Linked DNA regions of Homo sapiens: region 2 is linked to region 1. Evidence: promoter capture Hi-C in 16 types of primary human blood cells and fetal thymus (Javierre and others, 2016). All regions are on one chromosome and are shown on one strand. Each heading gives the region's core, a stretch centred on a gene start or on the middle of the fragment in contact. The rest is flanking DNA. Distances are from core to core; before and after follow the strand shown. Region 1 holds the start of CEACAM7 (CEA cell adhesion molecule 7). Region 2 overlaps PCAT19 (prostate cancer associated transcript 19).

Region 1 (6,050 bases), core at 1,846-4,345:
GGGCTTTGGGGACTGCACACCTGTCCTGCCTCTGGCCCCCTGGTGAGTCAGTGTAGAGAGCAGATAGAGGAGTTGCTCATCCCTGTCCCATGGCCAAGCATTTACACAGTCATGAGACTCAACACCTGGGTGGCTTCTTTTTTTTTTAAGATCCAGGGATCTTGCTATGTTGCCCAGGCTGGTCTTGAACTCCTGGGCTCAAGACACCCTCCTGTCTCAGTCTCCCACTGGGGTGGCTTTAGGGGCAGGGGATGAGAGAGGTGGAACATGGGTCTCAGTCCCTTGGAGGGACAGGGAACAGGTGCCAGAGCCTCCTAGGATCCTGCATCAGGTTCCAGTCTCTGAAGAGATTATGGATCATTCATTCCTTCATTCATTCCCTCCCTCCTTCATGAGAGAACTACTGAGCGAGTGTGTTTCTCACTTTGGGCCCTGGCATGTGCAGGGTGTGAGTGGGGAGAGAAAGCAAAGTCTTCTCCTTTATCCTCCTGTGGGAGTGACACCAACACATCAGGAAACACAGGATTTCAGGTCCAGTGAGGGTAGGAGTGTGAATCTAAGGGAGAGGCCTGGACATTCCCAGCACTGACTCTGATAGTTGAGGCAAGAGATTCAGTTCTAGGTAAAAACTAATTCTCTATTTGTTCCTCACTCCCTAGACCAGAATCTCCCACTTCTGGCTTGGATGCCTAGGAAGCAAGCTCTGTGGCTACAAAGACCTGGGGACTCTGATGTGACTGTCCGGTCCGTGAGACCCTGCCTCAGTGGCTGTATTTCCTTCTGCCTCAGTTTCCTTTAACAAAATGAGATAAAGCGTAAATGGTCTCTGGCTTGCCTTGCTGTCTGTGAATTTACCTTAAAATAATCACAATTACCTGGATGAGAGCCCTGTGTAGAAGAGCTGCCCAAACAAGCAGGATCTCTGATTGTTTGCCTCCAGGAGTGGGTTATTTGGACCTGATTCCTGGTGTACAAAGAACTTACAGCAGAAACTTTCTTCTTCTTTTTCTCCCCCTGAGGACACTGACTCCCCTAGGACCTCTCTTAAGTTCCTCATCCAGGGGGACTGAGGTCCTAGTAATCCTGTTCATCTGTCCTCTCCAGGCTGAGTCTCAGGTGAAGGATGAGGCTCTGTCCTTGCCCAGATGAGGCCCTGGGGGTGACCAGGCTGGTGACCAGCTCCATGAGCCATGATCCTCAAACAGCTCAAATCCTTGCTCTCAGTCAGTTCAGCCCAGGAGGCCACAACCCAGCCCTGACACAGGTTCCTTAGGGTCACCTGGAGTCAAGAGCCCTGGGACAGGGATCTGGGACTTGTGCTTCCAGGGCTGAGCTTCTCTGTGAGGATTCCAGGGGACTCCTCAGGCCAGGCTCTGACCCAGTTCTCCAGGGTCTTTTTCAGGGGGAGGGCACAGAATCTTGGCTGAGACTGATCTCCCCCTGCTGAGTGCCCCCCATCAGACTGTCCTTCCTCTGCAGCAAGTATCTGCAGGGTCTGGATGCAGGAAAGGGATTCTGGTCTGTAGAAGTTTGTCTCCCCCATGTGTGTCCTTCACTAAATGCCCAAACTCCAACACTGGATAAAATGTAGATGGGGACACAGGCACAACCCAGGCCTGACAACCCCGTGTGTATGAAGTAGAACTGGCCCCCAGCACCCAGAAGTCATGGAGGTATCACTCACAGAATACGTAGAATTGTCTGGTTACTTCTTCATTCACAAGATTTTCTTTTATAACGTGTAGGGTATAGATTCCTGCGTCATTGTGGGTGACGTTCTGGATCAGCAGGGTTCCATTGGGGTATATTGTCTCTCGACCGTTGTGTGCGGGCCCTGGGGCATTTTCTTGACTTATATTTTTTACATATCCTATAATTCGATAGTTGGCATGCACCCTTTCCCCTTTGTACCAGTTGTAGCCATAAAGATTCTGGGACTCATTATGGACTACTAGAAGGACCTCCTTCCCTTCTGCGACATTGAACGGCACGACATCAATATTGGTCTGGGCACTGTTTGGCAGGTTCCAGAAGGTTAAAAGCGAGGCTAGGAGGGGGAGAGAACATCAGTCAATATTGGGACCTATGTATTGGGGTGGAAAGATGGGGCCCTGGATCCTGAGCAGGTCTCTTCACCCACCCCCATCTTGAAGTAAGTGTGTGTGTGTGTGTGTGTGTCCTACTGGATCAATGTCAGCAGCATGTCCCCTATCAGCACCTCTGACCTTACATTTCCCTGTTCGGAATCCTCTTCCCCAGGGATCTGCAGGGCTCCCTCCATACTGCTGGACCTGCTTACATCAGGGCATCCTTGGGAGACCCCTTCCCTGACACCTTCTCTAGAAGCCCTGGGTGTTCCGTTTCTGACATTTCCCTGCTCTGTTCCCTTTAGAGCTCTTGTCAACACCTGGCTTCACATTCTAGATCTCTTTGCCTGTCTGTCTTCTGCCGCATGAGAGCGTGAGCTCTGTGAGGGCAGGGACTTGTGTGAACTGGATTGCACCCCAGTGCCTGGAACAGGCTGCAGGCTCCAGTAGATGAGTTCATGAGAGTTCCCAGGGCCCTCCCTCCACATCCTGGGGTTTATTTTCCAATGCCTGAGGTTGGTGGCTAGGGACAATGTTTTATGCCCTGGTTATGTTTTTATTTGAAGCGTCACATGATATAGTTATTATTATCATATTTCAAAATGTAGCAGCTAGTGATGATTAACCAGGAAAAGAGAACATGTGAGATTTTCTTGACCCTTTCCAATTCCAGTCCAATGTGATTTTCCTGTTCTGGTTTCCTGTCCCTGTCTGGTGTCCTCTCCCAAAGGACTTCAACAGAAGCCCTTTGTCCCCTCTCAGAGCCCCGTCCTCCCAAGGAGACCCCAGCCAGTCTCTCTGGCCCTCCTCCCACCCACTCCCAGGAAGTCCTCCCCTCACCTGTGAGCAGGAGCCCCTGCCAGGGAATGCACACTCTGTATGGACAGGCTGAAGGGGACCCCATGGTCTCTGCTGCCTGCTTGTCCTCTGTGGAGAAGAGCTTGGGCTCCAGGAACTCTCTTGTCAGGGCTGCTGTGACTGTCAGCTCTGCTGTCCTTCCTACCTCTGTGCTGAGCCTCCTCCCAGGGCAGGAGCACTTTCCAAGATCACATGGTCCAGGGGTGGGGTCTCTGCTCAGGAGTCCTCTGTCCCCTCCCCTCTCATTCCTGCCTCTTTTGTCCCTCTTCCTCTTTCCCTTTTGTCTATATTCAGTTCCCGATACAAAGCTTTGAGTAGCAAGGCTGATGGACCCCTGTCCCCTGGGAGGACAACCAACCTTTCCCAGTGCTGACCTATGCTGTGTTCTGGCCTTGGGTCTGTCACACCAGGGGGATTATTTCCCTTGTGACAGAGAAACCCAGCTGGGCCTTGGGTTTCTGCTGGGATGATGCCCAGCAGGAAGGTGACAGAGGTGGCTCTGGGGGATAGAAAGGGGCTCACTGGGGGATGACTGGGGAGGGACCAGCCCTCTGTCTCCAGTGACCCAGGCACAGAAACCAAGGCCCAGGGGTCTCAGGAGGAGCTACAGCTCCTGGGTGTGGAGGGAGGTGTCTGGTGTGTCCTGGGAAGAGAGCTGTGGTGGAGGGAGGTGTGTGGCTCTGAGCTCTGCTGTCCTTGGGGAAGGCTTCAAGGAAACCCTCCCTCTCCCTGTCTTTTGGATGTGCTGTGGCTCAGGTCCTTTCCATGTTCTACCTGACCTGGAAGCCTCTGTCTGGCTGACAGTCCTGTGGTCACCCCGCCTTCCCCATGGGTGGTGCCAGGAGGGAATGGGGAGCTGCACAGAAACCCCTGGCAGAGCGGGGTCTTCAAAGGCCCCAGGAAGGAAGAGGTGGGACACAGCAGGAACGCGTGAAAGACAAGAAGGGTCTGTTGGAGCAAGGAATGGAAACCAGGCTCCACCTTCACCACCTTAGCAAGGCCAAGTTCATGTCCAGGGGAATTACAGCTGACCTTCGAACACACAGATTTGAACACACAGGTCCACTTACATGTCGATGTTTTTTTGTTTGTTTGTTTGTTTGTTTGATTTTTGTTTTTTGTTTTTTGTTTGTTTGTTTTTTGCTTTTTTTTTTTTCCTGAGACAGAGTCTCACTCTGTTGCCCATGCTAGAGTGCAGTGGCACGATCTCAGCTCACTACAACCTCCACCTCCCGGGTTCAAGTGATTCTCCTGCCTCAGCCTCCCAAGTAGCTGGGACTATAGGCACCCGCCACCACGCCTGGTTAATTTTTGTATTTTTAGTAGAGGCGGGGTTTCACCATGTTGGCCAGGCTGGTCTCAGACTCCTGACTTCAAATGATCCACCCACCTCAGCCTCCCAAAGTGCTGAGATTACAAGCATGAGCTGCCATGCCCAGCCACATGCAGATGTTTTAAATTAAAAGTTGCACTGAGTGTGTCCCCTCCTCTTGCCTCCCCTCCACCTCTTCTACCTCTGCCATCTCTGAGACAGCAAGACCACCCTCTCCTTTCCTCCTCCTCAGCCTACTTAACCTGGAGACAAAAAAAGGATAAAAGCCTTTATGATGATCCACTGTCACTTAATGAATAGTAAATATGTTTTATCTTCCTTATGATTTTCATAGTAACATTTTATTTTCCCCAGCTTATGTTATTGTAAGAGTACAGTATATAATATAAATAAACATGCAAAATACATTGATTTACCGTTTATGTTAACAATAAGGCTTCTGGTCAAGAGTAGGGTTTTAGTGGTTCAATTGTTGGGAAGCCAAAAGTTATACAAAGATTTTCTACGGGGTCCTCAGCACCCTTAACCCCTGCCTTATTCGAGAATCAACTGCAATTTCCTGAGTGTTCTCTGTGTGCGATGTGCACCCCTGGAAGGCAAGAGATCTGTGGTCAAAGTCAGGGGCTGTTCCAGGGATGTTGACGAGGGTCCACATGGTGTGACCTCCAAGCTACAGGATCAGGTCACCCCAGGTCCTGCTCATGGAGAGTCCCAGGCTGCCCAACTCCATGCAGTGCAGGATGAGCTCAAGGAGAGGACAGGAGTTGTCCAGAGAACAGCAAATCAAGATTTGGAGAACTGTCCACCAGGGGGATAGGCTGCCTCAGAAGGAGCCACCTGTCCCCAAGGTTTCAAAGGTAGGACCCAGAGAGGTGTCTCTGGGGGCTTCAGAGAGAGGACACCAGCCTAGGAGGTGGTCCCCAGAGAGCCCTGTGTTCCTCCATCACAGCACTGGGGGTGCTGCCTCCAGGTCATCTGTGTCCCTGTCTGTCGTCTGCTCCAGGCCTCCTGGCAGGACCCAGGAGCTGGGGCATTTCCCACCTGGATACTCAGGCAGGGGTTTCCTGGTTCCTCTGTTATGGGAGGGGGAGGCCCTATGACCCTTAGCCTCTCTGAGATGGAAACAAAGGCAGATCCTGGGTTATCCTGTCCTCCTGCAGGGGAAGTTCCCCTGGGTCCCCAGGTCTCCTTGGGCTGGTTAGAGGTCTCCAGAGACCACAGCCAGGAGCCCCCATCTCCAGGGACCCTCGGGGGTGGGGTGTCATCACCCAACTTCCTTGTGATCAGGTCCCCTGGTGGTCACTCCATCTGGGATGGAGGATCCAGAGTCTGCAGCAGGTCAGGTGTCTTTGTGAGAAGAGGAAGGACATAGGCTGCTGGCCCAGGCCCCCTGGGAGTCGTGACATGACTCACAAGTCAGAGACGGGGAAGGGGTGTCACTGTTCTGGGATGAGTCAGATTCTGACCCCCCTCTCTTAGAAGGCCCTGTCCTCCCTCTTGAAGCTCTGAGGGTTCAGGCCCTGTCCCTGGGGCAGCCTTGGGCACTTGTTGGCCTCCTCCCATGCTGGCACCAGTGCCTCTGTGTCCACAAAGAACAGACCCTGACTCCGGGGGTCACACAGAGGTGATGTGCTTCTGTTGTGTGACCGCCCACGCATTTAACCAGTATTTGTTGAGCATCTGTTGTATGTCAGACACTGGACTGGGCCCTGGGATTCCACAAAAAGCAGGACAGACGTGGCCCCTGTGCTCATGGAGTTTCCCTGTAACAG
Region 2 (6,050 bases), core at 1,264-3,763, 230 kb before region 1:
CTCCAAGAAGATTCTTATCAGCTCCATAAAGTCAACTTCAATTCCTCAAATAAGTCGTATTTGAATTCATTCCACTGTAAGCCTTCAAAGAGTAATGAGTATCTCCAATGGTTCCTGTTACGAAAGAAAACCGAATCTGATTGAGCTTGTGCCAATAATTATATTGCCATAAGTAAAAATACTCACAAATAGTTTCCAAATTTTGGAGAATTCTTACAGGGAGAAAGGTCAGTTTCACTCACAAAAGTATACTTGGTCAATTGCTGTTAGTTATAAATAGCTCAAAAGAAAGGTTTTCCTGATGCTTCTTCTAACAGAGTGGCAGTCTTCCAAACAGGATGTTGTCTGTTCACTTTGGAATTGCTATCCAGAGAGCAAGCAGCTCTTTGTCGGCCAGGCGAGAGCTGTTTATTAGGCACTGTAGAATCTAGCAGCATCTCGAGATGGAGCAGGGACCCCTCTTAGGGGCTTACTCGATCACCATCAGCCAGTATGGAGATAAAGGAAAATCTTGACTTCCTTCAAGGGAAATTCCAGGCATCTAGCTAGGCTTGAGAAGTAAATGAGCAACTTGATCAACGAGAAGGTAATGGTAACTTAAAACAATAGCCAAGGAAATTGGAGTCGTAACATATTTGGTTCCCTGTGAAAACTAAAGATAACATCTTAACATATGTCTCTGAGTTGTTTCCGGAAACCTGGACCCTCACCAGAAAATACTAAAAATACAAAAATTAGCCAGGTGTGGTGATGAGTGCCTGTAGTCCCAGCTACTCGGGAGGCTGAGACAGGAGAATTGCTTGAACCCAGGAGGTGGAGGTTGCAGTGAGGCGAGATCATGCCATTACACTCCAGCCTGGGCGACAAGAGTGAGACGTCTGCTAAAAAAAAAAAAAAAAAAAAAGAAAACCAAAGACATTGCTTACTCTCATCATCCATTAGTTACTCTCATCATCCAGTTACTCTCATCATTCATTTTAGTAAAGGCTCCTCCAGAAGCTGATAGCAGTCTCACTCAGATTGTACCCTCTGGTTTCTGTACTTTGTTTTGCTCCTCCCCAACAGTTACTAGGTTCTTGGTAACCACAATTCTCAGAAGTACTTTCTATTGTCCCTACATGATTTGGTCTTTGGGAGGTGGCTCTGAGCTAGTGGCTGAGACTCACATTCACTGAAATCTAAGCTTAGTGTAGCATCAAGATTGAAGCCAGCACTCTGTTTTAATTTTACTTTAGCTATGACAGGTAACAATAACTATGGGATTGAATATTACCCTTTTTTCTTATTTTGTTTGCATTTTCTTAGGCATCCAGTAAACTGACTCCTCCAAGAGTTGGATTCATTTCTAAATTCCCCAGCAAACTTTACCTTCAGTAACTGTGGCTCTGTGCCATGGGTAACTACATGGCCACTCAGGAATCAGAGGTTCCTCATTACTCACCTTTTTATTTTTTTGCTTTCTATACATTCAATTGTATCTATATCATTGTGAAAGAAAACAGAATCTCCAGGCCCCCAACTCACTATGGCTAAGGGCAAGTGAAGTTTGGAAACGTAGTCACACAATCCTGCTTTCTTTTTTCCCCAAACACATAGCTGTAATTTCACAACCCTGCGTCATTGCCGTATCATTGGGGTAAACGAGAATATCCCAGTGACACAAGGACACATATCTTCCCAGATGGCTTTCCTCATAAGTTGCTCACGCGGAAATTCCTTGTGAGCCCCTAACTCTTTCAGGAGAAATATTGTAAACAAAAAGTAAAATTCTAATCCCCCCAACCAACCGAATAGAGCCCCTTCTTGTCCAAGGGTATCCCCTGCAAACCTGAAAAACTAATTCAGGTCACGATGAGAAGGCAGGGGGTCAGACACACCTCATTATATTTCTTCCCTTTGGAGTTCATGCAAAGTGACCAGCACTAACATTAAAACAGAGATCCTGGCTGGGCACAATAGCTCACATTTGCAGTCCCAGCACTTTGGGAGGTCGAGGTGGGCAGATGACACGAGGCCAGGAGTTCAAGACCAGCCTGGCCAACAGGGCAAAATACCATCTCTACTGAAAATACAAAAATTAGCTGGGTGTGGTGGCGCACACCTGTAATCCTAGTTACTTAAGGGGCTGAGGCACGAGAATCACCTGAACACAGGAGGCAGAGGTTTCAGTGAATGAAGATCGCACCACTGCACTCCAGACTGGGTGACAGAGTGAGACCCTGTCTCAAGAAATAAGAGGAAAAAATAGAGATCCCAACAGTGACGGAACAGACTCTTTGTTGCAATAAGATAACCGACTCCAACCTGACTCTGGTATAGCATCACATAATAGATAACATTCCCTAAAGGAAATCAAAGTATTTTATCCCCAAATGTATTTCTTTGACATATTTTGGAATGGCCCTGCAAAGCCATCTCTTATTGGAGAAATCTATAGAGCATCCTCTTCCTGGCTTGGCACGGTGGGTCACGCCTATAATCCCAGCACTTTGGGAGGCTGAGGTGGGCAGATCACAAGGTCAGGAGTTTGAGACCAGCCTGGCCAATATGGCAAAACCCCATCTCTACTAAAAATACAAGAAAAAAAAATTAGCTGGGTGTGGTGGTGTGCACCTGTAGTCCCAGCTACTCGGGAGGCTGAGGCAGAAGAATTGCTTGAACCTGGGAGGTGGAGGTTCAAGCAATTGTATATTTAGGATATTACAAGTATCCTGGATTAAGTAATATCCTGGATATTAGGAACCATATTATAAGGAGGGTGGACACCTTTTTCGATATGGGGAGTAATATTATGCTCTCCCCCCAGAATATTATGAACAATTTCACAAGGGGGGTGTACACATCCTGTGACAATGGGAGTAATATCATCCTCTTTAAAAAAATATTAGTATCGATATCATGGAGGGGTGTACACGCTCTGCAATATTGGGAGTAATATTATTCTCTTTTTCCCCGGATATTCACAAGAATGTCACAGAGGTGGTGTACAATTCCTGTGATATTGGGAGTAATATATTCTCTCCCCCTAGATATTAGAAACAATATCAAATGGTGAGTGTACACACTCTGTGAAATTGGGAGTAATGTCATCCTCTTCCCCCTGGATAGTAAAAACAATATTACTGGGGGTTGTGTAGACTTTCTGCGATATTGGGAGTAATATCATCCTATCCCGCCCTGGATATTAGGATCAATATTACAGAGGGTGTACACCCTCTGCGATATAGGGAGTAATATCATCCTTTCCCCCCGAATATTAAAATCAATATCACAGAGGAGTATACACCTCCTGTGATATTGGGAATAATATCATCCTCTCCCTTCCCTGTACGTTAGAAACAATATCACAAGGGGTGTGAACACCTCCTGTGATATTGGGAGTAACATCACCCTATTATCTTTGGATATTAGGAGCAATATCACCTTGGGGGTGGGCACCTTCTGTGATATTGGTAGTAATATTATTCTCTCCCTCCCTGGATATTAGGACCAATATCACAGAAGGGGTTTACACCTTTTCTGATATTGGGAGCAATATTATCCTCTTCTCTTCTGGATATTAAAAACAATATCAAAAGGTCGGTGTACAGCCCCTGTGATATTGGGAGTAATATCATCCTTTTTCCCCATAAATATTAAAATTAATATAATTTTCTTCCCCCTGGCTATTAGGCACAATATCACAAGGGTGTGTACACCCCCTTCGGTATTAAGCGTAATATCATCCTCTCACCCCCTGGTTATTAGAAACAATGTCACGGGGGAGTGTACATCCCCTGCGATATTGGGAGTAATATCATCCCTACCTCCCTGGATATTAGAAACAATATCACAGGGGAGTTGTAAGCTTCCTGCGATATTGGGAGTAATATTATCCTCTCCCCTTCTGGATATTAGGAACAATATCACAGGGAAAGTGTACACCTTCTGTGATATAGGGAGTAATATCATTTTCTCCCCCACTGGATGTTAGAAACAATATCACAGGGAAGGTGTACAGCCCCTGCCATATTAGGAATAATATCATCCTCTCCCCTCATGGATATTAGGAGCAATATCACAGGGGAATGTACACCCCTTGCGATATTGAAAGTAATGTCATCCTCCCCTACTCTGGATATTAGGAACAATATCACAGGGGTTGTGTACACGCCCTGCAATATTGGGAGTAATATTCTCTCCCCCACTGGATATTAAAAACAATATCACAGGGGGTTGTACACCCCCTGCAATTTTGGAAGAAATATTATCTTTTCTCCCCGTGTATATCAGAAACAATATCACAAGGGGGTGTACACACTCTGCGATATCGGGAGTTACACTGTCCTCTTTCCCCATACATATTAGGGACAATATCAATACGTGGGTGTACATCCCCTGTGGTATTGTTCTTAATATCATCCTCTGCCCCCCTATATAATAAAAACAATATCACAGGAAAGGTGTACATTTCCTTTGATATTGAGAGTGATATCATCCTCTTTCCCCTTAGATATTATAAACAATATCACAGGAGGGGTGAACACCCCCTGTGATATAGGGAGTAATATCATCCTCTACCGCCCTGAATATAAAGAGTAATATAACAGAGGGGGTGTACACACTCTGTGATATTGACAGTAATATAATTCTCTGCCCCCCAGATATTAGGAACAATATCAAAAAAGGGGTGTACAACCCCTGTGATATTGGGAGTAACATCCTCTCCTTCCCTGGATATTACAAACAATATCACAGGGGAATGTACACCCTCCCCTGTGTATGGGGTAGTAATATAATTATCTCCCCCACTAGATATTAGAAACAATATCACAGGGAAACAATATCACTGCGATATTGGGAGTAATACTATTTCTCCCAGCCCGAGTATTAGAAACAGTATCACAGGGGGAGTGTACACTCCCTGCAATATTGAGAGTAAAACCATCCTCTCCCCACTTGGATATTAGAAACAATATCACAGGGAAGGTATACGTCCCCTTAGATATTGGGGGTAATAGCATTCTCTTTTTTCCTGGGTATTAGGAGCAATATCACAGGGGTGGTGTACACCCTGCAATACTGGGGGTAATATCATTCTCTTCCCTTTTGGATATTAGGAACAATATCACAGGGAAAGTGTGCACCTTCGGCGACATTAGGAGTAATATCATACTCTTCCCTCCTTGATATTAGCAACAACGCCACAGGTTTACATCCCCTGTGATATTGGGAGTCATATCATCCTCTTTTCCCCTTGATATTAGAAGCAATATCACAAAGGGTGTATTCATTCCCTGCTATACTGGGAAGAATATCAACCTCTTTTTTTCCCCTGGATATTAGGAATAATATCCCAGGGGGAGTGTACCCATTCTGCTATATTGAGAGAAATATCACCCTCATTTCCCCTGGATATTAGAAACAATATAAAAGGGGGGGGTGTACACTTCCTGTGATATTGGGATTGATATCATCCTCTTCCTTTTTGGATATTAGGAACAATATCACAGGGGGGTGAACACTCTTTGTGATATGGAAAGTAATATTATCCTCTCCCCCCCTGGATATTAGGAACAATATCAAAGAGGGCATATACATCCCCTGCGATATTGGGAGTAATATTATCCTCTCCCCCCCTAAATCCTAAATATTAGGAGCAATATTACAGGGTGGAGTTTACAACCCTTGCAATATTGGGAGTAATATCACCCTCTCCTCCCCTGGATATTAGGAACAATATCACAGGGATGTGCACACCCCCTGCAATATGGAGAGTAATATCATTCTCTCCCTTCCTGGATATTAGGAACCATATCACAGGTGGGGTTCACAACCCCTGTGATATTGGGAGTAATATCATCTTCTTTTTTTCTGGATATTAGGAACAATGTCTATTGGGGGAACTAGCCCCCAATATTTCAAAGTAGGTTCTTTTCTATTTTCCTTAAGTGTCACCTGGTCTGAGAAATAAAGTGAAAGAGTACGAAAGAGAAATTTTACAGCTGAGCCTCCGGGGTGACATCACATATCGGCAGGTTCTGTGATGACCACCTGATCTGCAAAACCAG

Evidence for each region. Contacts are between HindIII fragments. The CHiCAGO score rates a contact against its expected background, and 5 or more counts as called.
Region 2: a fragment that was not itself captured here is called in contact with the fragment with the promoter of CEACAM7 in region 1 in 2 of 17 cell types (M2 macrophages and neutrophils); the score reaches 6.5 in M2 macrophages.

What each region holds. Positions count from the first base shown.
Region 1 is chr19:41,685,175-41,691,224 of GRCh38, forward strand. CEACAM7 (CEA cell adhesion molecule 7) reads right to left here and starts at 3,096. Exons shown (of 5, transcript NM_001291485.2): 1 at 2,928-3,096; 2 at 1,685-2,047. The coding sequence starts at 2,991. The HindIII fragment of the contact is 5,666 bases long and covers 1-3,251 here.
Region 2 is chr19:41,456,374-41,462,423 of GRCh38, forward strand. It overlaps PCAT19 (prostate cancer associated transcript 19), which reads right to left. Exons shown (of 3, transcript NR_136334.1): 3 at 1-114. Among named protein-coding and RNA genes, the nearest start is that of ERICH4, 16 kb to the left of the region's middle. The HindIII fragment of the contact is 2,664 bases long and covers 1,182-3,845 here.